Regions from separate parts of the Homo sapiens genome. Here all the other regions are linked to region 2. Evidence: promoter capture Hi-C in human tissues and cell types (Jung and others, 2019). All regions are on one chromosome and are shown on one strand. Each heading gives the region's core, a stretch centred on a gene start or on the middle of the fragment in contact. The rest is flanking DNA. Distances are from core to core; before and after follow the strand shown.

What was found. Contacts are between HindIII fragments. The study calls those that stand out against the background at their distance.
Region 1: a contact is called between the fragment with the promoter of JUND here and the fragment with the promoter of FKBP8 in region 2, in 1 of the 25 tissues and cell types used here (dorsolateral prefrontal cortex).
Region 3: a contact is called between the fragment with the promoter of RAB3A here and the fragment with the promoter of FKBP8 in region 2, in 1 of the 25 tissues and cell types used here (dorsolateral prefrontal cortex).
Region 4: the fragment with the promoter of IL12RB1 here is called in contact with the fragment with the promoter of FKBP8 in region 2 in 1 of the 25 tissues and cell types used here (dorsolateral prefrontal cortex).

What each region holds. Positions count from the first base shown.
Region 1 is chr19:18,279,506-18,285,663 of GRCh38, reverse strand. JUND (JunD proto-oncogene, AP-1 transcription factor subunit) reads left to right here and starts at 4,042. Exons shown (of 1, transcript NM_005354.6): 1 at 4,042-5,970. The coding sequence starts at 4,180. The coding sequence ends at 5,223. MIR3188 (microRNA 3188) reads right to left here and starts at 3,587; the gene lies at 3,503-3,587. LOC124904652 (a long non-coding RNA gene) reads right to left here and starts at 3,572. Exons shown (of 2, transcript XR_007067154.1): 1 at 2,534-3,572; 2 at 1-203. It also overlaps the pseudogene RPL39P38. RefSeq lists silencers at 3,564-4,563, 5,144-5,453, 5,884-6,083 and enhancers at 4,057-4,908, 6,134-6,158. The HindIII fragment of the contact is 27,320 bases long and covers 1-6,158 here.
Region 2 is chr19:18,542,323-18,549,165 of GRCh38, reverse strand. It overlaps FKBP8 (FKBP prolyl isomerase 8), which reads left to right and starts at 5,593. Exons shown (of 9, transcript NM_012181.5): 1 at 5,593-5,680. RefSeq lists a silencer at 5,348-5,777. The HindIII fragment of the contact is 12,332 bases long and covers 1-6,843 here.
Region 3 is chr19:18,201,597-18,208,064 of GRCh38, reverse strand. RAB3A (RAB3A, member RAS oncogene family) reads left to right here and starts at 4,023. Exons shown (of 5, transcript NM_002866.5): 1 at 4,023-4,169; 2 at 5,325-5,552. The coding sequence starts at 5,325. It overlaps LOC102725254 (a long non-coding RNA gene), which reads right to left and starts at 3,335. Exons shown (of 2, transcript NR_134910.1): 1 at 3,166-3,335; 2 at 2,502-2,609. It overlaps PDE4C (phosphodiesterase 4C), which reads left to right. Exons shown (of 15, transcript NM_001098818.4): 15 at 1-100. RefSeq lists silencers at 2,672-2,731, 3,617-4,006 and enhancers at 3,387-3,486, 3,672-3,966, 3,999-4,781. The HindIII fragment of the contact is 10,728 bases long and covers 1-6,468 here.
Region 4 is chr19:18,084,214-18,090,745 of GRCh38, reverse strand. It overlaps IL12RB1 (interleukin 12 receptor subunit beta 1), which reads left to right and starts at 3,812. Exons shown (of 17, transcript NM_005535.3): 1 at 3,812-3,986. The coding sequence starts at 3,923. RefSeq lists enhancers at 3,481-3,540, 3,551-3,900. The HindIII fragment of the contact is 62,137 bases long and covers 1-6,532 here.

The sequences.
Region 1 (6,158 bases), core at 2,793-5,292, 260 kb after region 2:
ACGCCTGACCTCGTGATCCACCTGCCTCAGCCTCCCAAAGTGCTGAGATTACAGGCGTGCGCCACCACACCCAGCCTGACCCCTTACTATTTCTTCAAATCCAATAAAAATCGCAATGCTTTTCCTTTCTGCACCATCGTGGTGTGTTCTTGACTCCACTTCTCGCCATATCTTCCTACAAGACTTTCAGGATTAAGCGATTCCTGGACAAGAAACAAAAGCAAAATCGTCCCATTCCCCAGTGGATTTGGATGAAAACTGGAAATAAAATCAGGTACAACTCCAAAAGGACACTGGAGAAGAACCAAGCTGGGTCTATAAGGAATTGCACATGAGATGGCACACATATTTATGCTGTCTGAAGGTCACGATCACGTTAGCATATCAAACTGAAAGTGTCACCACTATCTGGAGAGTTCGACGTGTTTTCCTCTCTGAATCTGTTATGAACGTGTGGGTTGGCTGGGTTCAGTAATAAATATGTGAGGCCTTTCATTTCAAAAAAAAAAATCGCGATACTCCACAAAGTAGGTAGGTTTATTTGCTCAATTTTCATGAAGGAAAAGCTGAGGCTCAGAGAGGTTGACAGGCCTCTGTATCTCACCTGCCTGCCTGCAGGAAAGTGCTCCACTCAGCTCAGGCTGTCTCAGCCTACCATTCACCAGACCATCTCCCCAGCTGCCAAGGCTGAGGCCCAAGTTCAGGGCAGGGCCTCTGTAGGCCGCCCACTCACCTCCTGCCTCAGGGAGAGGCATGACCCCGTCTCCTCCACTCTGGCCCCACTGCACGGGACCCAGAGAGGGGTTCCCAGGGCAGGGCTGGCTACAGGTCTGCGGGCTGGATCTTGTCCCACTAGGGATCTCTTTGTCCAGGATAGAACCTGGGCTAGAGAGCACAGAGACCCATGGATCTGAGTATGTATCTGTGTGTACCTGCGTCTGTCTATACAACACGAATACAGACAGACACAGGTGCACACACAGACACACACTCCAATAGGCAGACAGACACCTTCCTAACCAATCTAGAGACAAAACAAACCCACACCTCCAGTTCCCTGCCCTGGCAATTTGAATCCCAGGCCTGCCAGGCCAGGTCTTTATTATTATTATTATTATTATTATTATTATTATTATTATTATTTTTAAGATGGAGTCTTGCCCTGTTGCCCAGGCTGGAGTGTAGTGGCATGATTTCAGCTCACTGCAACCTCCATCTCCTGGGTTCAAGTGATTCTCCTTTCTCCAGAGCAGCTGGGATTACCGGTGCGCTCCCCATGCCTGGCTAATTTTTGTATTTTTAGTAGAGACAGGGTTTTGCCATATTGGCCAGGCTGGTCTCGAACTCCTGACCTCAGATGACTTGCCCGCCTCAGCCTCCCAAAGTGCTTATTACAGGTGTGAGCCACCTCGCCCAGCCTATTTTTTTTTTCTTCTTTTTTTTTTTTGAGACAGTGTCTCACTCTGTAGCCCAGGCTGGAGTGCAATGGCGCAATCTCGGCTCACTGCAACCTCCACCTCCCGGGTTCAAGCGATTCTCCTGCCTCAGCCTCCCGACTAGCTGGGATTACAGGCACCTGCCACCACACCTGGCTAATTTTTTTTTCTTTTCTTTTTTCTTTTTTTTTTTTGAGACGGAGTCTCGCTCTGTTGCCCAGGCTGGAGTGTAGTGGTGTGATCTCGGCTCACTGCAAGCTCTGCCTCCCGGGTTCATGCCATTCTCCTGCCTCAGCCTCCCGAGTAGCTGGGGACTACAGGCGCCCGCCACCATGCCCGGCTAATTTTTTTTTTTATTTTTCAGTAGAGACAGGGTTTCACCGTGTTAACCAGGATGGTCTTGATCTCCTGACCTCGTGATCAGCCTGCCTTGGCCTCCTAAAGTGCTGGGATGACAGGCGTGAGCCTCTGCGCCCAGCCTAATTTTTATTTTCAATAGAGATGGGGTTTCACCATGATGGTCAGGCTGGTCTCAAACTCCTGACCTCAAATGCCTGCCTCAGACTTCCAAAGTGCTGGGATTACAGGCAGGAGTCACCGCGTGTGGCCGACAGGCCACCTCTCTTGGTGATGAGGACAGCCTCCCTTATGGCCTTCATGCCCCAGTTGGGGGCAGAGCCAGGTGAGTAAGGAGGATAGAAAAGGAGTAACGCATGCCCACTGGCCAGGCAGACAAACTGAGGCTAGAGACCACCCACACAAGCAACCTTTTGTTGCATTCACCTTTATTTTTTATTTTTTTTTGAGACTGGAGTCTCACTCTGTCTCCCAGGCTGGAGTGCAGTGGCACAATCTCAGCTCACTGCAACCTCTGCCTCCCGGGTTCAAGCGATTCTCATGTCTCAGCCTCCTGAGTAGCTGGGATTACAGGTGCACACCACCACACCCGGTTAATTTTCGTATTTTTTTTTTTTTTTGTATTTTTGTATTTCGGCCAGTCTGGTCTTGAACTGCTGACCTCAAGTGATCTGCCTGCCTCGGCCTCCCAAAGTGCTGGGATTACAGGCATGAGCCACCACACCCAGCCCCGCATTCACCTTTAATACTGAGCATCCATTCTATGCGAGGCCCTGTCAGCAGGCTCAGCATAGGCAATGTCCCTGACCTTCAGGGACTATGGTCCACTCCATCATTCTGGCAGATTCAGAGGCTACAATAAAGGAGTAAAGTCTGAGGGTGGGGCACTTCCTGAAGACACATCTTTGCACTGGGGGAAGGGAGTACCAAGCAGAGAGCATAGCACGTGCAAAGGCCCAGAGGTACGATTAGTCCTGCAACTGGGAGGCCAAGGATCAGAGAGAGTGAGGGGAAGGAGGTCAGGGAAAGGAGGGTGTGGGCTCCATTCAGACAGAGGTGGGGAGCTGGAGGGGTGCATGCAGAGGCTGTAGGTCAGATCCAGATGTCCTAAGGATCCCTTGTGAGTATTGGTGGGGTGGGTCCATCTCTCCTCCCTCACACCCCCTTCCCAGCCAGTCTTAATAGTGGCTCATTAAGCCCTAACAGCCATGATAGTGGTAACAAGCATGTAATAATTATACCCGGCATTCCTGCCTCATCAGCCCAGCCCCTGGAGTTGGGCACCCTCGCCCAGGACATCACAGCCCTGGCAGACCTGGGGTTAAAACGTGGGCGGCGGAAGGAAGGGGCTGCGCAGGGGCCTGGACTCCCAGGTTCTAGGGTTCTAAGGGTGGACAAGAGCTCAGGCCTAGTCACAGCCCGGGCCCTGCTGTGACTCCTAGCTAACTCTCGGGGGATGGTCACTCCACCTCTCTGAGCCCAGTTTCCCATCTGTAAAGGCAGGAAGTAGGACTCCTGGTTCTAGAACGCACTCAGTGAAAATGATCAGGATCCAAGCGCTTTCAGCAACTTCTGGCGACCCTCCTCTCCCCTCCCGTCTCTTCCTGAGCAATCACACGCGGGGTGGAGGGAGGGAGGGAAGGAAGGAGGGAGGGTGAGGAACGCAGACCTCCCCACACCCCCGGCGAGCCCCCGGACACAGCCCCACCAGGCCTCCAGCCCCGTATCCGCACAAAGCCTCTCCAGAAGGCGCGCTAGGGGAGGCCCTGGCGGCACAGCAGAGCAGGAGGCGCCAAGGAGTTATTTAGCCATGCGGGACCCCATCCCCCTCCAGTCCCCGGAGGCCGGCACCGCCCCCGCCCCCGCCCCCGCCCGGCCGGGGCCCCACGCGCGGACACGGGGCGGGGCCTCGGGGCGGGCGGGCGCCTGGTGGCCCGGGCCCATCACGCCACCCGGGACGTGCCTTGGCGGAGGCGGCGCCGGGGAGATCGGTCGTACACAGCGGTCCCGGGGCGGGGTGACCCGGCCCGGGCGCGCGGCCGCCCCCATGACGTCAACCCACAAGGCAGCGCGCTGTTGTGGCGTTTACCGCGCGTCGCCGGGGCAACGGCGGCCGGGCGGGCGTCGGCGGCTTGGCCCCGCCCCTCCATGCAAATGAGCGACGTCACCCGCACCCAATGGCGAACGGGGGCGGTGAGCTCATCGCGCCGAGCCGAGGCTATAAGAGGGCGCACAAGTGGCGCGGCGCAGGAGCCGCCGCCAGTGGAGGGCCGGGCGCTGCGGCCGCGGCCGGGGCGGGCGCAGGGCCGAGCGGACGGGGGGGCGCGGGCCCCCCGGGAGGCCGCGGCCACTCCCCCCCGGGCCGGCGCGGCGGGGGAGGCGGAGGATGGAAACACCCTTCTACGGCGATGAGGCGCTGAGCGGCCTGGGCGGCGGCGCCAGTGGCAGCGGCGGCAGCTTCGCGTCCCCGGGCCGCTTGTTCCCCGGGGCGCCCCCGACGGCCGCGGCCGGCAGCATGATGAAGAAGGACGCGCTGACGCTGAGCCTGAGTGAGCAGGTGGCGGCAGCGCTCAAGCCTGCGGCCGCGCCGCCTCCTACCCCCCTGCGCGCCGACGGCGCCCCCAGCGCGGCACCCCCCGACGGCCTGCTCGCCTCTCCCGACCTGGGGCTGCTGAAGCTGGCCTCCCCCGAGCTCGAGCGCCTCATCATCCAGTCCAACGGGCTGGTCACCACCACGCCGACGAGCTCACAGTTCCTCTACCCCAAGGTGGCGGCCAGCGAGGAGCAGGAGTTCGCCGAGGGCTTCGTCAAGGCCCTGGAGGATTTACACAAGCAGAACCAGCTCGGCGCGGGCGCGGCCGCTGCCGCCGCCGCCGCCGCCGCCGGGGGGCCCTCGGGCACGGCCACGGGCTCCGCGCCCCCCGGCGAGCTGGCCCCGGCGGCGGCCGCGCCCGAAGCGCCTGTCTACGCGAACCTGAGCAGCTACGCGGGCGGCGCCGGGGGCGCGGGGGGCGCCGCGACGGTCGCCTTCGCTGCCGAACCTGTGCCCTTCCCGCCGCCGCCACCCCCAGGCGCGTTGGGGCCGCCGCGCCTGGCTGCGCTCAAGGACGAGCCACAGACGGTGCCCGACGTGCCGAGCTTCGGCGAGAGCCCGCCGTTGTCGCCCATCGACATGGACACGCAGGAGCGCATCAAGGCGGAGCGCAAGCGGCTGCGCAACCGCATCGCCGCCTCCAAGTGCCGCAAGCGCAAGCTGGAGCGCATCTCGCGCCTGGAAGAGAAAGTGAAGACCCTCAAGAGTCAGAACACGGAGCTGGCGTCCACGGCGAGCCTGCTGCGCGAGCAGGTGGCGCAGCTCAAGCAGAAAGTCCTCAGCCACGTCAACAGCGGCTGCCAGCTGCTGCCCCAGCACCAGGTGCCCGCGTACTGAGTCCGCGCGCGGGGCGCATGCGCGGCCACCCTCCCCAAGGGGCGGGCTCGCGGGGGGGTGTCGTGGGCGCCCCGGACTTGGAGAGGGTGCGGCCCTGGGGACCCCCCCTCCCCGAGTGTGCCCAGGAACTCAGAGAGGGCGCGGCCCCCGGGGATTCCCCCCCCCCGAGGGTGCCCAGGACTCGACAAGCTGGACCCCCTGCTCCCGGGGGGGCGAGCGCATGACCCCCCCGCCCTCGCGCTGCCTCTTTCCCCCGCGCGGCCGCCCCGTGTTGCACAAACCCGCGCGTCTCGGCTGCCCCTTTGTACACCGCGCCGCGGAAGGGGGCTCCGAGGGGGCGCAGCCTCAAACCCTGCCTTTCCTTTACTTTTACTTTTTTTTTTTTTTCTTTGGAAGAGAGAAGAACAGAGTGTTCGATTCTGCCCTATTTATGTTTCTACTCGGGAACAAACGTTGGTTGTGTGTGTGTGTGTTTTCTTGTGTTGGTTTTTTAAAGAAATGGGAAGAAGAAAAAAAAATTCTCCGCCCCTTTCCTCGATCTCGCTCCCCCCTTCGGTTCTTTCGACCGGTCCCCCCTCCCTTTTTTGTTCTGTTTTGTTTTGTTTTGCTACGAGTCCACATTCCTGTTTGTAATCCTTGGTTCGCCCGGTTTTCTGTTTTCAGTAAAGTCTCGTTACGCCAGCTCGGCTCTCCGCCTCCTTCTTCCCCCGCCGGGGCCTGGCGGGCTGGGCGGGGCCTGGTTCGCTTCCCCCCTACACCCCCGCCTTTCTCTCCTCCCTCTGTCCCTAGCTCCTCCCCTTGTTGGAGGGAGCAGAGAGCGGGTGTCTGAGAGCGGCCCGCACATCTGGCGCGCAGCGAGCGCCCCCTAGACGCGCCTTGGCGCGGGGCCGGCTGATGTCCAGGTTGGGGAGGGGTCTTGGGGTCTTTGATCTGCG
Region 2 (6,843 bases), core at 4,344-6,843:
TGGGGACTATAGATTGAGGCCAAAAGGGACTTGGCTGGCCCCTGATGTTTTGTATACACTGGACTTGAGATAAGAACATGTTTTTTTGTATGATGAAGGGAGAGGATAGAAAGTTATGCGAACATTCAGTCTGCCCAGAGATGGGGACTTTCGGGGGTCGGGTTTGGGGACTGGAAGGCTTTCTCTGCCACTTTTTTCCATTTCATTTCCTTTTTTGTGTGTGTGATAGGGTCTTACTCTGTTGCCTGTACTGAAGTGCAATGGCGTGATCACTGCTCCAGCCTAGCAACAGAGCGACTCCATCTCAAAAAAAAAAAAAAAAGAGGAAAACCACCTAATGAGACAGATTTATGTCTAGATATGTCCATAATTACATTAAATACCAATAGACCAAATTCCCCAGTTAAAAAACAAAGATGGACCCGGGCGCAATGGCTCATGCCTATAATCCCAGCACTTTGCAAGGCCGAGGTGAGAGGATTGCTTGAGCCCAGGAGTTTGAGAACAGCCTGAGCAATGTAGCAAGACTCCATCTCTACAAACAATAAATATAAAAAAAGTAGCTGGGCATGGTGGTGCACACCTGTAGTTGAAGCTACTGGAGAGGCTGAGCTGGGAGGATTGCTTGAGCGTGGGTGATTGAGGCTGCAGTGACTCATGATTGTGCCACTGCACTCCAGCCTGGGCCACACAGTGAGACCTTGTGTCAGAAAGAAAGAAAGAAAACATGAACCAAGGAGAATTGGTGTGTAATTTTTTTTTCTTTTTTGTTTTTGAGATGGAGTCTAGCTCTGTCTCCAGGCTAGAGTGAAGTGGCGCAATCTTGGCTCACTGCAACCTCCGCCTCCCGAGTTCAAGCAATTCTCCTGCCTCAGCCTCCTGAGTAGCTGGGATTACTGGAGTGTGCCACCATGCCCAGCTAATTTTTCTGTTTTTAGTACAGACGGGGTTTCACCATGTTGGCCAGGATGGTCTCGATCTCTTCACCTCGTGATCAGCCCGCCTCGGCCTCCCAAAGTGCTGGGATTACAGGAGTGAGCCACCATGCCCAAGCTTGGTGTGCAATCTTAACAAAGTGCACTCTAAGGGAAAAATGAAAGAAGTAAAGAGGGGCACATCTTAACAATGAAAGGTTCAGATCGGGCCTGGCGCTCTGGCTCATGCCTGCAATCCCAGCACTTTGAGAGGCCGAGGCAGGTGGATCACATGAGATCAGGAGTTTGAGAACACCCTGGCCAACATGGCGAAACCCCGTCTCAACTAAAAATACAAAAATTAGCCAAGCGTGGTGGCGGGTGCCTGTAATCCCAGCTACTCGGGAGGGTGAGGCAGGAGAATCACTTGAACCCAAGGGGCAGAGGCTGCAGTGATCTGAGATCTTGCCACTGCACTCCAGCCTAGGCGACAGATTGAGACTCCATCTCAAAAAAAAAAAGGTTCAGTTCACCAGGAAACACAATTGCAACTCTACATGCAGCCAATGATATGGCCTCCAAGTAGAGCAGTCTTGTTTTTTTGTTTTTGTTTTGTTTTGTTTTGTTTTTGAGATCGAGGTCAAGAGTTTGAGACCAGCCTGACCAATACAGTGAAACCCCGTCTCCACGAGAAATGCAAAAATTAGCCAGGCTTGGTGGCTGGTGCCTGTAGTCCCAGCTACTCCAGAGGCTGAGACAGGAGAATTGCTTGAACTTGGGAGGCAGAGGTGGCAGTGAGCCGAGATCGTGCCACTGCACTCCGGCCTGGGCGACAGAGCGAGATTCTGTCCCAAAAAAAAAAAAAAGGGAAAAGCAAATATAAGTAAAATGTTTGCCTGCAAATATCTGTTCAATGAGTGCCAGCCATTATTATTATTGTTGGTGGTGTTATTTTATAGTTTATTTTAGTAGCTTATTAATTTATAATAATAATTATTACTATTATTTTAGAAACAGCGTCTTGCCTTGTTGCTCAGGCTGCAGTGCAGAACTTTGATCATAACTCACTGTAGCCTCGACCTCCTGGGTTCAAGGGATCCCTCCCACCTCAGCCTCCCATTTAGCTGGGACTACATTTTTAAATTTTCTGTAGAGGCCAGGTGTGACGGCTCATGCCTGTAATCCCAGCACTTTGGGAGGCCAAGGCAGGTGGATCACAAGGTCAGAAGTTCAAGACCAGCCTGGCCAACATAGCGGAACCCCCCCATCTCTACTAAAAATACAAAAAATTAGGCAGGCATGGTGGCAGGCGCCTGTAATCCCAGCTACTAGGAAGGCTGAGGCAGGAGAATTGCTTCAACCTGGGAGGCAGAGGTTGCAGTGAGCCGAGATCACACCATTGCACTCCAGCCTCACTAGACTCTGTCTCAAAAAAAAAATTAGTCATGTGTCATGGCAGGCGCCTGTAATCCCAGCTACTTAGGAGGCTGAGGCAGGAGAATCGCTTGAACCTGGGAGTCAGAGGTTGCAGTGAGCCCAGATCGTTCCACTGCACTCTACGTGGGAGACAGAGGGAGACTGTGTCTCCAAATTAATTAATTAATATTCTGTAGAGGCAGGCTCTCACTACGTTACCCAGGCTTAGGTTGCCCAGGCTGGAGTACGGTGACGTGATCTTGGCTCGCTGCAACATCTGCCTCCCGGGTTCAAGCGATTCTCCTGCCTCAACCTCCCAAGTAGCTGGGATTACAGGCATGTGCCACCGCACCCGGCTAATTTCTGTATTTTTCGCAGAGACAGGTTTCACCATGTTGGCCAGGCTGGTCTCGAACTCTTGACTTCAGGTGAACCATCTGCCTCAGCCTCCCAAAGGCTGTTTTTGAGACTGGGTCTTGCTCACTGCAACTTCCACCCCTGGGGTTCAAGCAGTCCTCATGCCTCAGCCACCCCAGTATCTGAGATTACAGGCATGCACCACCATACCCGGCTAATTTTTGTATTTTTAGTAGAGACGGGGTTTCACCATGTTGGCCAGGCTGGTCTAGATTTCCTGACCTCAGGTGATCCACCCACCTCGGCCTCCCAAAGTGCTGGGATTACTGGCATAAGCCACCGCACCCAGCCCTCCAGGTGATTTCTTACATAGCTCTGCTATGCTACCACCTTTAACCTCCCTTCCTTCCTCAGTGATTTCCGTGAGACCCCACCACTACCTTTTGTGGCAGGCACTGTGCAAGCCTCAGAGCTATAACAATGAGAAAGAACAAAGCCTTCCCAGACTTTGGGGCTCTGCCAGTGTAGAGGGCAAGGCAGAGGTAAATCAAAGCAGTGGCTCACGCCTATAATCCCAACAGTTTGGGAGGCCAAAGTGGGAGGATTGCTTGAGCCCAGGAGTTCGAGACCAGCCTGGGCAACATGGGGAAACCCCATCTCTACAAAAAATATAAACATTGGGCCGGGCGCGATGGCTCACGCCTGTAATTTCAGCACTTTGGGAGGCCGAGGTGGGCAGATCACAAGGTCAGGAGATCGAGACTATCCTGGCTAACACGATGAAACGCTGACTCTACTAAAAATACAAAAAATTAGTCGGGCATGGTGGCAGGCGCCTGTAGTCCCAGCTACTTGGGAGGCTGAGGCAGGAGAATGGTGTGAACCTGGGAGGCGGAGCTTGCAGTGAGCCGAGATTGCGCCACTGCACTCTAGCCTGGGCTACACAGCGAGACTCTGTCTCAAAAAAAAAAAAAAAAATTAGCTGGACATGATGGTGCACCTGTGGGCCCAGCTACTCAGGAGGCTGAGGCAGGAGGATTGCGTGAGCCCAGGAGATAGACATGGTTGCAGTGATCTGAGATCGTGCCACTGCACTCCAGCCTGGGTTTCAAAGTAAGACCCTATCTCAAAAAAAAAAAGGCAGAGATATAAGTAAACTAGTTTGGGAAGCCGAGGCAGGCAGATCATGAGGTCAGGAGTTCCAGACCATCCTGGCCAACATGGTGAAACCCTGTCTCTACTAAAAATATACAAATTAGCTGGGCATGGTGGCGGGTGCCTGTAGTCCCAGCTACTCAGGAGGCTGAAGCAGGAGAATCGTTGGAACTTAGGAGGTGGATGTTGCAGTGAGCCGAGATCGCGCCACTGCACTCCAGCCTGGCGACAGAGAGAGACTCTGTCTCAAAAAAAAAAGAGAAAGAAAAAAAAAAAAAAGGCCAGGCACGATGGCTCATGCCTGTAATCTTTGGTACATCGAGGTGGGCGGATCACGTGAGGTCGGGAGTTTGAGACCAGCCTGACCAACATGAAGAAATCCCGTGTCTACTAAAAATACAAAGTTAGCCAGGCATGGTGGTGCATGCCTCTACTCCCAGCTACTTGGAAGGCTGAGGCAGGAGAATCGCTTGAACCTGGGAGGCAGCGGTTGCGGTGAGCTGAGATTGCGCCATTGCACTCCAGCTTGGGCAACAAGAGTGAAACTTCTTCTCAAAAAACAAAAACAAACAAACAAACAAAAAACCCAAGTAAACTAGTTATGAAGTGGACGTTCATCAACTTCATTGTGCCAAGACAGCTAAAGGGGGCACCTGGTCTTGCCTTGGGGAGGTTGGGAGGGCTTCCTGTAGGAGGTAACCTGGGAACTCCAACCTTAGAAGTGATCTCCAAAAAGCCAGTTACCACCTCCATGATAGCTACCTCCAAAAGCTGGTGTCTGACTCATCCATCCATCCATCCATCCATCCATCCATCCATCCATCCACCTACCCATTTATTGAGCTTCTATAGATGCCAGGCATGGTTCAAGGAGGTGCTGGGTACAAATCAGGTAAAAATCTCTGCCAGGATGAAGCAGAGTGAGGGATGGTCCCTCCAACCACAAGCAAAATAATGACAAGATAATTCTGGAAGGAGTAACTGCTAGGAAGGAAATAAAACTGAGTGAAGGAGGGAGAAGTGTCCCGGTTTCAAAACAAGATCCACAAAAACTTAGCTAATCAAGGATGCCACCTTCTTCCCGAGCCATGGGGACCTTATCACCCTCCAGCAGACAGTGCATAGAGGAGGAACTCCTCCCAGTGGCCCTGCTGGCTCAGTCGCCTGCGCAGCAGTAATCGAGCGCCTCCAGTATGCACCAGGCAACCTTCTAGACATTAAACTGTGTGGGGGATGGGAGGGAGGTTTCTGTATGCCTTTGGGCACGTCACTCCTCCTCAGGCCCTCAGGTTCACTTCTGTAACTAAGGCTTCAGGATGGGTCATTCAGCAACCCCAGAGCTGCCCTGCCCGTCAAGCTTGAACTCTTTAAGGAAATAACATTTAGAGTGGACTGTGCCCCCAGCAGCCCCCAAGGTGAGAGTGCATAGATGGGGGTGTTTATCCCCATTTCGCAGATGGTCAGGATGAAGCTCAGAGGAGAGGCAGGAGTCGCACAGGCTGCGCGATACTGACCCGTGTTGGGGTCCAGCCCAGGGTCCCCCGCCCCCGCCCCAGCCCCCGCCCCAGCCCCCGCCCCAGCCCCCGCCCCAGCCCCAGCAGCCGGGAGGCTTCGGTCCCTTTAAGAACGCCCCGCGGGGCCAAGCAGGAAGGGGGAGGTGCCAACGCCCGGGACGGACGTCTGCATGAGCCAACGGGTGCGGCAGTCGCGGCAGCGGCGGCCAATGGGCACGGCAGGGGCGGGGCCAAGCGGCCGAACCTGGTTCCCGAGGCGCGGCGGCCGCGGCTGGGGGCGGGGAGGGGGGCGCAGGACCCCAAGTGGGGGTCCCGGAGCCAGAGGCAAGTGTCCTGGGGTGCTGGGGGCGCCGTGCCGGCCGGGCCGCTGCCCTGGCCTAGGCTGGTCCGGGGGCTAGCGCGCCGGGGGCTGCGGCCGATGGGCGGGGCGAGGGGCCGCGGGGGTGGCGAGCCGGGGGGGCACGGGGGTCGGGGGTGCCCGAGGGGGCGCGGCCGGGCGGGGGTGGCCAGGGATGGGGGTCACTGGGGGCAAAGGGGATCCAGTGGGGGGGTCCCGATGGAGGCGTGCAGGGCCAGGGGCGCCCGAGGCGTGCGGGGGTCGGGTGCCCCAGACTGGTGGCGTCAGACAGGCGTGGGTCGTTGGGGGCCTGGGTCGCGGCTTGACTGAGGGCCCGGCCGGGGCTGTGGGGCGTCAGGAGAGCGTGGGGTGTTATGGGATCGGAAAGGGGGGGGCGTCTGGGGACACTGGAGTGTTTACGGCGAGACGGAGCGGCTGTGGGGGGAGCTGGCCCGTGCTGGGGGCGGTGGTGGTTGGGGTGGGGGGTGGGAGGGGAGGCCGAATTGTGCGGGCGCGGGGAATTATGGGGGTGGGGGCTGGGAGGGTCTCTCAAAGTGGGGCTCCGAGCCCGGGAGGAGCAGGCAGGTGAGGGTTAGGGAGGGGATGCGGCGGGCTGGTTTGATGGCTGTGCCACACTCTTCTGAGCTTGGGGCCTGGGGGACGGAGGGGTTGGTTATTGGTTCAGGAGGTCTGGGGCAAGGAAGAGGCTGTAGAATGTGGTGGGACCTCGACCACTCCTGGAAAGGAGGCTGCTTTGAGGGGGTGGGACCGAGGCCTGATGAGAGGAGGATGGTCTCCTGGGGAAGGATTTGGGCCAGGGTCCCTGATGTTGGGGTTGTGGGGGATAGTGTTAGATTCAGAGTGTGGAAGGAAAAAACGCTTGGGGTTTCTGGGTGATTACAGTTGGTGCTTTTGGGGAGGGTCTCCCCTTTGGAGAAGAGGCTGGAGGTGGGAGGCCCTGGTAAAAGATTCAATTTCCCCCAGTGGCCTTAGAGGCTCTAAAAATGGCTTCCCTAAGGCCTCGGAGGCTGTCCTCTCCACAAAAATCCCAGCACCCTTCGCTCAGCTTATAATCAGGCAAAGCCACAGGGCCTGAAGCCCCAGGTTCAAATCCTCCTTTGGCCTTTGGCTTTCTCTGTGACCTTGGGCA
Region 3 (6,468 bases), core at 2,774-5,273, 340 kb after region 2:
TCCCCCCAGTCCGCTTACAAAGTAATACCATGTTCGCTGTAAAAAATTTGGAAATAATGGAAATGTATAAAGAAGGAAATAAAATTCTGCTGTATCTCCACCCATGGATTATCTGCAGTATTTTGACTTATTTCCCTCTAGTTTTTCTCCATCTGTTATAAGATATTCATATTTTTGGCTGGGCGCGGTGGCTCACGCCTGTAATCCCAGCACTTTGGGAGGCCGAGGCGGGCGGATCACGAGGTCAGGAGATCGAGACCGTCCTGGCTAACAGTGAAACCCCGTCTCTACTAAAAATACAAAAAATTAGCCGGGCGTGGTTGCAGGCGCCTGTAGTCCCAGCTACTCGGGAGGCTGAGGCAGGAGAATGGCCTGAACCCGGGAGGCGGAGCTTGCAGTGAGCCAAGATCGAGCCACTGCACTCTAGCCTGGGTGACAGAGCGAGACTGTCTCAAAAAAAAAAAAAAAATTCATATTTTTTTCTTTCTTTTCTTTTCTTTCTTTCTCTGTCTTTCTTTTCTTTCCTTTTCCCTTTCTCTTTCTTTCTTTCTTTGCGTCTCGCCTTGTCGCCCAGGCGGGAGTGCAATGGTGTGATCTTGGCTAACTGCAACCTCCGCCTCCTGGGTTCAAACGATTCTCCTGCCTCAGTCTCCTGAGTAGCTGGGATTACAGGTGCCCACCACCATGCCCAGCTAATTTTTGTATTTTTAGTAGAGACTGGGTTTTCACCATGTTGGCCAGGCTGGTCTTGAACTCCTGACCTCATGATCCGCCTGCCTCGGCCTCCCAAAGTGCTGGGATTACAGGCATGAGCCACTGCACCCAGCCCTAGAATATTCATATTTCTTATAAATGAATATTCATATGTTCTCCTTCAGTTTGAGCCAAAGGCATTTGTCCCTCTCCTCTTACTGACTGCATCTGCTCTGGCCACACTGCAAGCCTGGTCCCACCACAGGGCCTTCAAACAAGCTGTTCCCACTACCTGGAATGCTTCTCTCTCAGCCCCCAGCCTCACCCATTAGATTTTTGTTTTTATTTTTGTTTTAGACAAAGTTTCGCTCTTGTTGCCCAGGCTGGAGGACAATGGCGTGATCTTGGCTCACTGCAACCTCTGCCTCCCGGGTTCAAGCGATTCTCCTGCCTCAGCCTCCCAAGTAGCAGGGATTACAGGCGACCGCCACCATGCCCGGCTAATATTTAGTAGAAATGGGGTTTCACCATGTTGACCACGCTGGTCTTGAACTTCTGACCTCAGGTGATCCACCCACCTCGGCCTCCCAAAGTGCTGGGATTACAGGCATGAGCCACCACACCTGGCCCCCACACTGGGTTTTAAGTTAGTGTCTTCTTCCCCGAGAAGTCGTCCCTGGACCCGTATCTGGGATACTTTTTTTTTTTTTTCTTGAGACAGAGTCTCCCTCTAGCACCTAGGCTGGCGTGCAGTGGTGCCGGTGATCTCAGCTCACTGCAACCTCCGCCTCCCTGGTTCATGCGATTCTCATGCCTGGGCCTCCTGAGCAGCCTCCTGGGACAGGCACCACCACACCGGGCTAATTTTTGTATTTTTAGCAGAGATGGGGTTTCACCATGTTGGCCAGGCTGGTCTCGAACTCCTGACCTCAAGGTCAAGGAGTGATCCTCCTGACTCGGCCTCCCAAAGTGCTGGTATTACAGGCATAAACCACCGCACCTGGCCACATTTTTATTTTTATTTGTCTAGTGTAGACGATAGGGTAGGGATGCAGGGAAGCCTCTGGACTTTCCTCTGAGTGGGACCGGCCTGGAAGCCTAGCCCGTTCTCCCACCAGCTCTGTCTCCCCTGACACAAAGAAAATACCCCAATCCCGCAGCCCCTCCCCCAGCTCAACCATTTCTAATTCCAGAGCCCAATGCTGCTCTGGACAATCAAGGGCTTGCATTCTTTTTAAATTTAAATTAAGTAATTAATTTTTTGAGACAGCGTCTCACTCTGTCGTCCAGGCTGGAGTGTAGTGGCGCGATACGGTTTCCTACAGCCTCGACCTCCTGAGCTCAAGTGATCCTCCTACTTCAGCCTCGGGAGTATTTGGGTCCACAAGCACGCGACACCACATCCAGCTAATTTTTAAATTTTTTGTAGAGATGGGGCCTCCCTATGTTACTCAGGCTGGTTTCCAATTCCTGGGCTCAAGCGATCCTCCCGCCTTGGTCTCCCAAAGTGGTGGGATTACAGGCGTAAGCCTCCGCACCCGGCTATTTTTACTTTAAAATACTAAGTCAGTGACGGAAGCTTCCGCACATTCTCGTGGCTCACTTTTCTCTTCCTGGGGAAAAAAGGCAGGAGGTATTTCCGAGAGAGCCACCCATGTAGGAAGCGTGCCTTTGGGCGATCAGGGAGCTGAGCAACCGAAAAACCTCCCCTCCAAGGAGGCGGCAGGCCAGGGCCTGGACCAGCTGCCCTGGAGCCCCCCACAGAGCACGGACTACCGCGTGGGCGCGGAGGGCAGGGAGAATGGGAGGTGGATTTCTTTTTATTTTTTGTTTTTCTGAATTTTCCCAATTTCTCTGCAGTGGATTGGTGATACTTCTATAGTCCGAGTGGGGGAGGAGGGAGCAAACATGTTACCCTAAAAAGAAAAAATAAATTTCCCAAATGTAAACGGTGCGGGGACGTGGGGGTGGGCGTCCCAGTACTCCCAGGGCACTGGGGGCGGGCTGGGGACTGGGTTGGCGGCGGCTGGGCCTCGAGGCGCTAAGTTATTCTGGTCTCTCGGCGCCTCCGCAGCTGGCGAGCTTTTTATAAACAGGACGAGTCACCCCCCGCCACACACACACGCTCCAGCCCCGCCTACTGGGAGGGGTGGGGGGAGAATCTAGGGGATCAGGACTCTCCTGGGGGCCACACACCCCTGGAGGGTTTGAAAGCTGGAGTAGGGGGAGCAGGAGACCCAAAGTGGGGGCTGGGGTTTCGGGCTCCTCCTCCCTCCCCAAATTCTGACTTCCTTCCCTAAAGATTTGGAGGAATAAAAGATGGACCATCTTAGCTCCCAAAAGGCTCCATCCTCTGAGTTTTGCTTTCCCAGGATGGAGGGAGGGGGTCTCCCAGCCCCCGGGTCTTTGAATCCGAGCTTTGAAGAGCTGGAGGCTTCGGCTCGTGCCCTCCCTGTTTCCCGGGGCATTTACCGCAGGCTTTAAGGGGTTTCCGGGACAGGTCGCTTCTCTGTCCCTGCTAAACCTTTTCTTCGAATTTTCTTCTTGATGACGGGGCGCAGGGAGGGGAGGGGGTTCCCAGAGAGTCCATCAGCCCCTTCCTCCTTTTCTGGGAATGGTGGGGAGGGGAGGCTCTCTTGACCTCTACTTCTTTCTTTTCAAACCTCAGAAACGGGGGAGGGGTGGAGTCTTTACTAGCCCCTCCCTCAGTGGGGGGGTCTTACGCCTCGGGAATGGGACAGGGGTCCCTCTTGACTCCTGTTTATTCTTTGGTATTTATTTTGAACCCCATATATGTGAGGGTATAAAACATCTCTTGGGCCTCGATTTTTCTTTTCTGCAATTGGGAGTCAGGGGCATTTAACAGGGGTCACAGCACCTTGGACTAGACGGTGGCCTCAAGAGTCCCCTACCTGGGGTGGGTGCGGGCGGGTAAGGGAACCGCCCCTCGAAGACCGGGGCTCAGCCAAGGCCTCAGCCTCTCGGCCCTTCAATCTCCCAGATGCCACCATTGGACAAGAGGAGGGCGTAGACAATCTCTGATTGGCTACTTCGCCCGTCGCTCGAGAGCTTAAGCCAGTGAGAGAACGCTGAGGGGCCCCGCCTCCCCGAGGCGGACAGGAGGCGGACGAGAGGCGGAGTCGGCCCCCGCGCCGCTCCCGCCCCTACTGGATGCACACGCTAGGCCCCGCCCCATTTGCACGTCAATCTGCTCAGGAGCCCTGCCCCATCTGGCTCTGCGTGCGTCAATGGGCCACATCTCTACGCGCGGCTCCGCCTCCGGATGGCGTCACGGACTTATCTACATGTGAGGCTCCGCCCCTCCCTTTGCAGGACGTCACGGAGGACTGCAGGGGCCTGAGCCGCTGCTGCCGCCGCCGCCGCGCAGCCCCACATCAACGCACCGGGGTCCTGTCACCGCCACCGCCAAAAAAGTCACCGCCGCTAGGGTCGCCGTTGCATCGGTGCAGGGCAAGGTGAGCTCCTGGGCGGCCGGGTGTGCTCAGGCTCCGAGCACCTGCATAACCTTCATTTGACTGATGGGCTGATGGAGGTGGGGGACGAGGTTGACTAGGGTTGAATGGGGGGAAGGATGCGGCGGTCGCGAGGCTGGGAATGGGTAGGGCCCGGGCGCCCCACTCCTGCCTGATCCTCACCACTAACCCCCCCAACCCCCCTGCTCTGCGGCGGAGGGGGAGGGGAGCCGAGCTCCTTGCGGGAAGCTGTGCGCGCGGGAGGCTTTTGCGTGCGCGTGCGCGTGGTGTGCACACGCGTGTGCGCGCCTGCCTGTGTCAGCGGGTCTGTGTGCACCCTTGCTTGTGTACCTGGATATGCTCGTGTGACGCCGTGGGGGTCTGGGCCTAAGTGTGTGAGCGTTGCACGCGCGTGGAGAAAGACGTGTGGACCGCCTGTGCAGGTATGGCCCGTGCATACAAGCACGGGGATCCGTGTCCGTGTGGGTGATGTGCACACGCCTGCATGGGTGGAGGGGCCTGTGCGCACGGGTGGTTTGCACATTTCTATAGGCGAGTCGGTGTGCAAACAGGTGTCTGTGTCTTTGTCCTGTGCACCTCAGTGCGTTCACACACTCCTGTATGTACGGATGAGCGTGTTTGAGGCTGTGTGCACGTGAGCGTGTGCATGCCCCTCCTGTATCATGTGATGCAGCGGCCTTGGCCGGAGCTCTCCGGCCTGGAGGTTTGCGGGGAGCGGGGGCTGCAGATGCGCGTCCTCGAGGGACCATGCACGCGGTGCACGTGGGGCCGCGCGGCCGGGTTCTGAGGACCATGAAAGATTGATGGGGGGCGGAGCCAGCCGCAGTCACCCCCTCCGGGCTCAGCCCTGGGTTTAGGGTTACAGCCCCACCTGGGGCACCTGCCCCTTGAAGGGGGCTGCTGGGGTGTCCCCATCGGCAACCCTCTGAGCCCCTCCTCTGAAACGCCCAGGATTTCAAGGTCACAGGCTGCCCTCTGCTGGGGGCACCACCAATTAATACTGGGGCTCCTGATGGGATAAGGGTGTCCTCCATACACCGGCCGTTTTCTGGAGCCCTTGCCATCTTCTGCCTGGGCTTGGGCACATGAGGATGGAGAGAGCCCCCCTCACGGCTCTGCTACACCCGGTATCCCCAGATGGCATCCGCCACAGACTCGCGCTATGGGCAGAAGGAGTCCTCGGATCAGAACTTCGACTACATGTTCAAGATTCTCATCATCGGCAACAGCAGCGTGGGCAAGACGTCCTTCCTCTTCCGCTATGCTGACGACTCGTTCACGCCTGCCTTCGTCAGCACCGTGGGCATCGACTTCAAGGTCAAGACCATCTATCGCAACGACAAGAGGATCAAGCTGCAGATCTGGGTGGGTCCCAGCTGGAGGGCTCCCGCCCGGCTCGGTTGGATTCCCGTACTTGGAAAAGCAGCCCCAACCTCGTCTATCTCTTTCCTGACTGGAGTCATTCACTTACACACTGGGCATTTATCAGTAAGGTGCCCACTGTGTACCGGGGCAGAAACAGCACCTGTGTTCTCCCATAAGCACCTAATCCTGGTCCCTCAGTTTCCCCATCTTCAAGTTCTTCCATGTATGAGGTTTCAGCTGGATCTTGGTCCCCATTCTCTTTTTTTGTTTGTTTTTTGAGACAGGGTGGTCTTGCTCTGTCCCCTAGGCTGGAATGCAGTTACGTGATCACGGCTCTCTGCAGCCTCGACTTCCCAGGCTCAAACCATTCTTCCACCTGAGCCTCCTGAGTAGCTAGGACCACGGGCTTCTACCACCACGCCTGCTGATTTTTTTCTTTTTTGTAGAGACAGGGTCGGGCTATGTCTGCCCAGGCTGGTCTTGAACTCCTGGGCTCAAGCGATCCTCCCACCTCAGCCTCTCAAAGTGCTAAGATTACAGGCATGAGCCACCCCACCTGGCCTTGTTAGTTTTAAGAGACAGAGTCTCACTCTGTTGCCCAGGCTGGATTTGAACTCGTGGGCTCAAGCAATCCTCCCGCCTCAGCTTCCCAAGTAGCTGGGAGTACAGGCAAGTGTCAGCTTCCTTTAATTTTTAAACCTACAGTTAAATTCTCTCCATCTTCATCTGGCTTGATTTTTCTCCTTGGTCCTTGTCACTCTCCAATATAGGATACATTTATACCGTTATTTTCTATTTCCCACACTGAGTGTCACTTAGCAAGGGAAGTGCCCATCTTGTTAACAACTGTGTCCCCAGTGTCCAGTTCAGGGTGTGGAAAAGATCAGTGCCCAGTCCATGTTTGTTTATTTGTTTG
Region 4 (6,532 bases), core at 2,563-5,062, 460 kb after region 2:
GGAACAACAACAATGACTAATCACACTGGCCAGCGGGTGGACAGCGCTCACTGCAAGCCAAGCCCTCCTTCATACTCACAAAAGCCCATTTTGCAGGTGGGAAAGATGAGGCCTGAGAGGGCCAACCTTGGTGCGGGTGGGGGAAGCCCTGAGGCACGGTCTCCACTCTGGAAGGGGCAAAACTATACTCCACAAGGGGTGGTTTGAATCCATCTCTTCATCTCCAGCTGGGGCCTCAGGTGGTCTGAGTGCCCCTGGACTCAGTTTCCCAATCTGTGAAATAAGGCAAGTGAGGGACTCTCCAGGAATTGGTGGAGTTGGGAGGGTCTCAGGATGGTCAGGAGGGGGCCATGACTTTCCTCTGATCTCTACCTATTTCCTCCACCTTTCTTGTTATTTTTTGAGCAGGGTCTTGCTCTGTGGCCCAGGCTGGAGTGCAGTGGCGCAATTAGAGCTCACTGCAGTCTCGACCTCCCTGGCTTAAGCCTCAGCCTCCCAGGTAGCTGGGACTACAGGCACCTGCCACCATGCCCAGCAAATTATTTTTTGTAGAGATGGAGTCTCACCATGTTGCCCAGGCTGCTCTTGAACTCCTAGCCTACAGCAATCCTCCTGCCTTGGCCTCACAAAGTGCTGGATTACAGGCATAATCCACCCTGCCTGGCCTCCTCCATCTTTATGTATCTCTCTATCTCTGTCCCTTTCTCTGTCTCTGCCCCTCCCCCAGGCCTCACACATCCATCCCCCAGCTGACCCTGGCCTGGGCCCCGGGGCCAGAGAAGGCTGTCCTGTATGGGGTCACAGGGCCCCCGTCCCCACTGTGCCAGGCCCAGGACACTGAGTCTTTGTCCCTAACTCACTGACCTCATAGCCTGCTGGGCGCCTGACCCTGGCCAGCTCAGCTGCCCCTCGGAGCCAGGCTTCTTGAAGGAGGGACCTCCTCCCAGGAAGCTGAACCGCATTGCACAACCCTGGCCACTTGGGCCTCAGTTTCCACAGATGCTCATCCCCAGGAGAGACCCTCTCCTTCTCCCTCCTCAGTGCCCCTGGACTCTAAGAATATTTCTTTTTTCTGTAGATGCATCTCACGTAACCTAAAATTCATCTTTTTTTTTTTTTTTGAGACATAGTCTCACTCTCTCACCCAGGTGGGAGTGCAGTGGTGTGATCTCGGCTCACTGCAACCTCTGCCTCCCGGGTTCAAGCGATTCTCCTGCCTCAGCCTCCTGAGTAGCTGGGATTACAGGTGCATGCCATCACGCCCAGCTAATTTTTGTATTTTTAGTAGAGACTGGGTTTCACTGTGTTGTCCAGGCTGGTCTCGAACTCCTGACCTCAAATGATCCACCTGGCTCGGCCTCCCAAGTGCTGGGATTGCAGGAGTGAGCCACCGCGCCCGGGCCGGAAATTCATCATTTTAAAGCAAACGATTCAGTGACATTTAGCACATTCAGTGTTGTGCAACCACCACCTCTATCTGGTTCCAGAACATTTGCATCACCCCAAAAGGAAACCCCGCATACATCAGCAGTCACTTCTCACTCCCGCCTCCCCCCAGCCCCTGACAACCACTCAGCTACTGTCTGCCTCTGTACATTTGCCTATTTTGGATATTTTATATAAGTGGAATCATACAGTGTGTGCCTTTCCTGTCCATCTTCGTCCACCCAGCATGATGGGTTTTTTTTTTTGTGTATGTGTGTTTTTTTTTTTTTGAGATGGAGTCTCACTCTGTCACCCAGGCTGGAGTGCAGTGGCACGATCTCAGCTCACTGCAACCTCTACCTCCCAGGTTCAAGTAATTCTCTCTGCCTCAGCCTCCCGAATAGCTGGAATTACAGGCACATGTCACCAGGCCTGGCAAATTTTTGTATTTTTAGTAGAGACAGGGTTTCGCCTTGTTGGCCAGGCTGGTCTCAAACTCCTGACCTCAGGTGATCCGCCCACCTCGGCCTCCCAAAGTGTTGGAATTACAGATGTGAACCACTGCACCCAGCCCAGCATTATGTTTTTGAGGGTTCATCCACATGGTAGCTTGGATCAGAGCTTCTCCACTGACATTTAGAGGCTTTGCCGACAGTGGGGAGGGAGGGGCAGGAAACAAAATACTCAGAGGCTAAGAAATGGAACATGGGGGAAAGACTAAGTTGCATCTCTTAAATTTTTTTTTTTTTTTTTTTAAGAGACAGGATCTTGCTCTGTTACCCAGACTGGAGTGCAGTGGCACAATCACGATTCACTGCAGCCTCAACCTCCTGGGTTCAAGCCATTCTCCCACCTCAGCCTCCTGAGTAGCTGAGAATACAGATGTGTGCCACCACGACTGGCTAACTTTTAATTTATATATATATATATATTTTGAGATGGAGTGTCACTCTGTTGCCCAGGCTGGAGTGCAGTGGCGCGATCTCGGCTCACTGCAACCTCCACCTCCTGGGTTCAAGCGATTCTCCTGCCTCAGCCTCCTCAGTAGCTGGGATTACAGGTGCCTGCCACCACACCCGGTTAATTTTTGTATTTTCAGTAGAGACAGGGTTTCACCATTTTGGTCAGGCTGGTCTCAAACTCCTGACCTCGTGATCCACCTGCCTTGGCCTCCCAAAGTACTGGGATTACAGGCGTGAGCCACCGCGCCTGGCCTAATTCTTTATTTTTTATAGAGATGGGGTCTTGCTATGTTGTTTAGGTAGACCCAAACTCCTGGGGTCAAGTGATCCTCCCACCTCGACCTCTCAAAGTGCTGGGATTAGAGGGGTGAGCCCAGGTGCACAAGGCTGGAGCTTGGCATGTGGGGAGGTGGGCATTGTGGAGGGCCAGCATGCTGCAAGCTCTTTGTAACAATTTGTTGGAAGGATGAAATTAGGCCATCCAAGAACACTGCCCTCCTTCAGCTCTTGAGTCTCAGATTCAGAAGCTGGCGAGATGGCCCGGTGCGGTGGCTCACGCCTGTGATCCCAGAATTTTGGTAGGCCAAGGCGGACGGATCATTTGAACCCGGGAGTTTGAGACCAGCCTGGGCAACATGGCAAAACCCCCTCTCTTAAAAAAAAAAAAATGCAAAAATTAGCTGGGCGTGGTGGTGCATGCCTGTAGTCCCAGTTCCTGGGGAGGCTGAGGTAGGAGGATGGCCTGAGCCTGGGGAGGTTGATGTTGCAGTGAGCCGTGATTGCACCACTGCACTACAGCTGGGCCACAGATCAAGACCCTATCTCAAAAGAAGAAAAAAAGAATTTGGCAGCCAGGCACGGTAGCTCACGCCTGTCATCCCAGCACTTTGGGAGGCTGAGGTGGGTGGATCACTTAGGGTTAGGAGTTCGAGACCAGCCTGGCCAGCATGGTGAAACCCTGTCTCTACTAAAAATACAAAAATTAGCTCGATGTTGTGGCAGTTGCCTGTAATTCCAGCTACTCGGGAGGCTGAGGCAGGAGAATTGCTTGAACCCGGGAGGCAGAAGTTGCAGTGAGTGGAGATCATGCCACCACACTCCAGCCCGGGCGACAGAGCAGGGCTCCATCTCAAAAAAAAAAAAAAAAATTGGCTAGAGAGGGCCAGAGACCTGGCCAAGTGCATGGAACCACAGGTGGCCCATGGGCCCATGGGGCTGGCATCTGGGTGTTCAGTTCAGGTCTGGGGCCAGCAGGGCAGAACCCCCTAGAACCCTGACTTGCTCCAAAGTCAGACTTGCTCCAGAGTCTGTGGCCGCCACCATCACCACCACCACGGAGCTGACTTCCTGGGTTTCTCTTTCACTTTGACTTGCCTTAGGGATGGGCTGTGACACTTTACTTTTTTTCTTTTTTCTTTTTTTTCAGTCTTTTCTCCTTGCTCAGCTTCAATGTGTTCCGGAGTGGGGACGGGGTGGCTGAACCTCGCAGGTGGCAGAGAGGCTCCCCTGGGGCTGTGGGGCTCTACGTGGATCCGATGGAGCCGCTGGTGACCTGGGTGGTCCCCCTCCTCTTCCTCTTCCTGCTGTCCAGGCAGGGCGGTGAGTCCCCTGACCCTGGCATGGCGGCTCCTCTTGCTGGGTGGAGGCACGTGTATGTGTGGAGAGCTGTGGGCCTGCTGTGTGGGTTGGTTTCATCTCTCTGTGCCTCAGTCTTTCCTGCTGTCAAATGGGAGATGGGCAGTCATGGCTTCTGGGATCGAACTTAGACATCTTTCCTCTGGTCTAGATTTTCTCTTCTGTGAAATGCACTAAATTTTTTCCACCTCCCGGAGTTCAATGAGAAAAAAAACTAAGGAAGGAATAAAAAGCAAGTATGTATCTAATAGGTATACATAGTATAGTATCTTATGTATGTAGTTTACAATAGATAGACATACATAATATAATGTATACAGTCATTTCCATATTTACGGGGCAATGGTTCCAGGACCCTCTGCAGATACCAAAATCCAAAGATGCTCAAGTTCCTGATATAAAATGGTAAAGTATTTGCATATAACCTATGCACATCCTTCCGTATACTTTACTTATTTATTTATTTATTTATTTATTTATTTATTTATTTATTTATTTACTGAGGTAGGGTCTCACTCTGTGTCCCAGGCTGGAGTGCAGTGGCCTAATCATAACTCATTGCAGCCTTGACCACCTGGGCTCAAGTGATCCTCCTGCCTTAGCCCCTTGAGTAGCTGGGACTGCAGGTGCACACTACCATGCCTGGTTAATTTTTTTGGTGTATACTTTTTACAGAGACAGCGTCTCGCTGTGTTGCCCAGGCTGGTCTCGAACTCCTGGGCTCAAATGATCCACTCACCTTGGCCTCCCAAAGTGCTCAGATTACAGGCATGAGCCACCATGCCCAGCCTTCCCATATACTTTTAATAATCTCAGGCCCTGCACGGTGACTCACTCCTGAAAATCCAGCACTATGGGAGGCCAAGATGGGTGGATCACTTGAGGTCAGGAGTTCGAGACCAGCCTGGCTAACATGGTGAAACCCCATCTCTACTAAAAATGCAAAAATTAGCCAGGCTTGATGATGGGCACCTGTACTCCCAGCTACTTAGGAGCTGAGGTGGGAGGATCGCTTGAACCCAGGAGGCAGAGGTTGCAGTGAGCCGAGATTGCAGCACTGCATTCCAGCCTGTGTGGCAGAGCAAGACTCTATCTCAATAATAATAATAATAAATAAACTTTCCTTCTCTGTACACTGGGGATCAGCGGGGTGCTGACTTTTTCAATGGCTCTTGAGATGCACTGAGTGCCTGTAGAATGCCCACAGCAGTGCTGGCCACACCTCAAGGTCCCAGCGCCTTCAGGGGCCAGGCATGGCTGGAGACCAGCAGCAGGGAGGGGGCGAGAGGCAGCCCACGAGGTATCCTGGAGATAGTGGCAGTGAGTGGTCAGTCCAGGGAAAGGGAAGGAGGATGGGCTTTAGGCTCTCAGGGGTGGGTGGGTGGGTGGGGGTTCTGTGTCATCACAGAGAGAGATGGAAGGATGGAGAGCCTTGTGTGTTAAGCATCTTTCCCCCCTCAAGGTTGGACACTTGGGGCTGTTTCCTGGGGTGCCGCCTTCTCCCCCAAGGCTTCCAATCTGCCTGCAGGGCTCAGGACAGGTCCTTCTTGTGGGAGTGAGGGCGCCGGGGTCTTCCTGACCCATCCATGGTGGCATCCCCCTCCTTCTCTCACCCAGTTCCACACCTAGCAGACTGTGGCAATCCCAAAGGGCACGGGGATCCCAGTGGCTGAGGGAGGTCGCTGCCTCCTGGAGAAATGTTATTAATAATTGCCCTGACTGCTAGTGGGCCAAGTGTGCTTGCCTGGGCCAGCCCTGGCAGGCCTCTCCCTGCCATGCACCCTCTACTGTCTTTCCCCATGCTGGCTTCAGACACTGGTGCCACCCCAGGCACACCTCCACTTCTCTCTGCCCTCCAGACTGTTGGTCTTACTGTTCTTTCCTGCAGGGGTACCTCCCGAGAGTGTCTCCCAAATATGCATCTCAACCTCTGAGGACTAAAGGGTGGTGGATGAATGGATAGACAGGTGGATGGGTGGGTAAATGAATGGATGGATGAATTAATAAATACATGTATGTATGTATGGATGGATGGATGGATGGATGGATGGATGGATGGATGGCTGGATGGATATATCGGTAGGTAGATAAATGGATGGATGGGTGGGTGTATGGATGAATGAATACGTGGATGGATAGATGGATAGATTGGTGACTAGATGGATAGATGGATGGTTGGGTGAATGGATAATGGATTAATGAATGCATGGATGCATGGATAAATACATGGATGGATGGATGGATGGATGGACTAATGAATACATGGATGGATGGGTGAATGGGTGGATGGTGGGATGGATGGATGGATGGATGGATGGATTAATACATGGATGGATGGATGAATGGACGAATGGACGGATAAATGGGTGGATGGTGGGGTGGATGCATGGATTAATACATGGATTGATGGATGGATGGATGGATGGATGGATGGATGGATAGATGGATGGGGGGTGGATGGATGGATGGATGAATACGTGGATGGATGGACGGATGGTGGGGTGGATGGA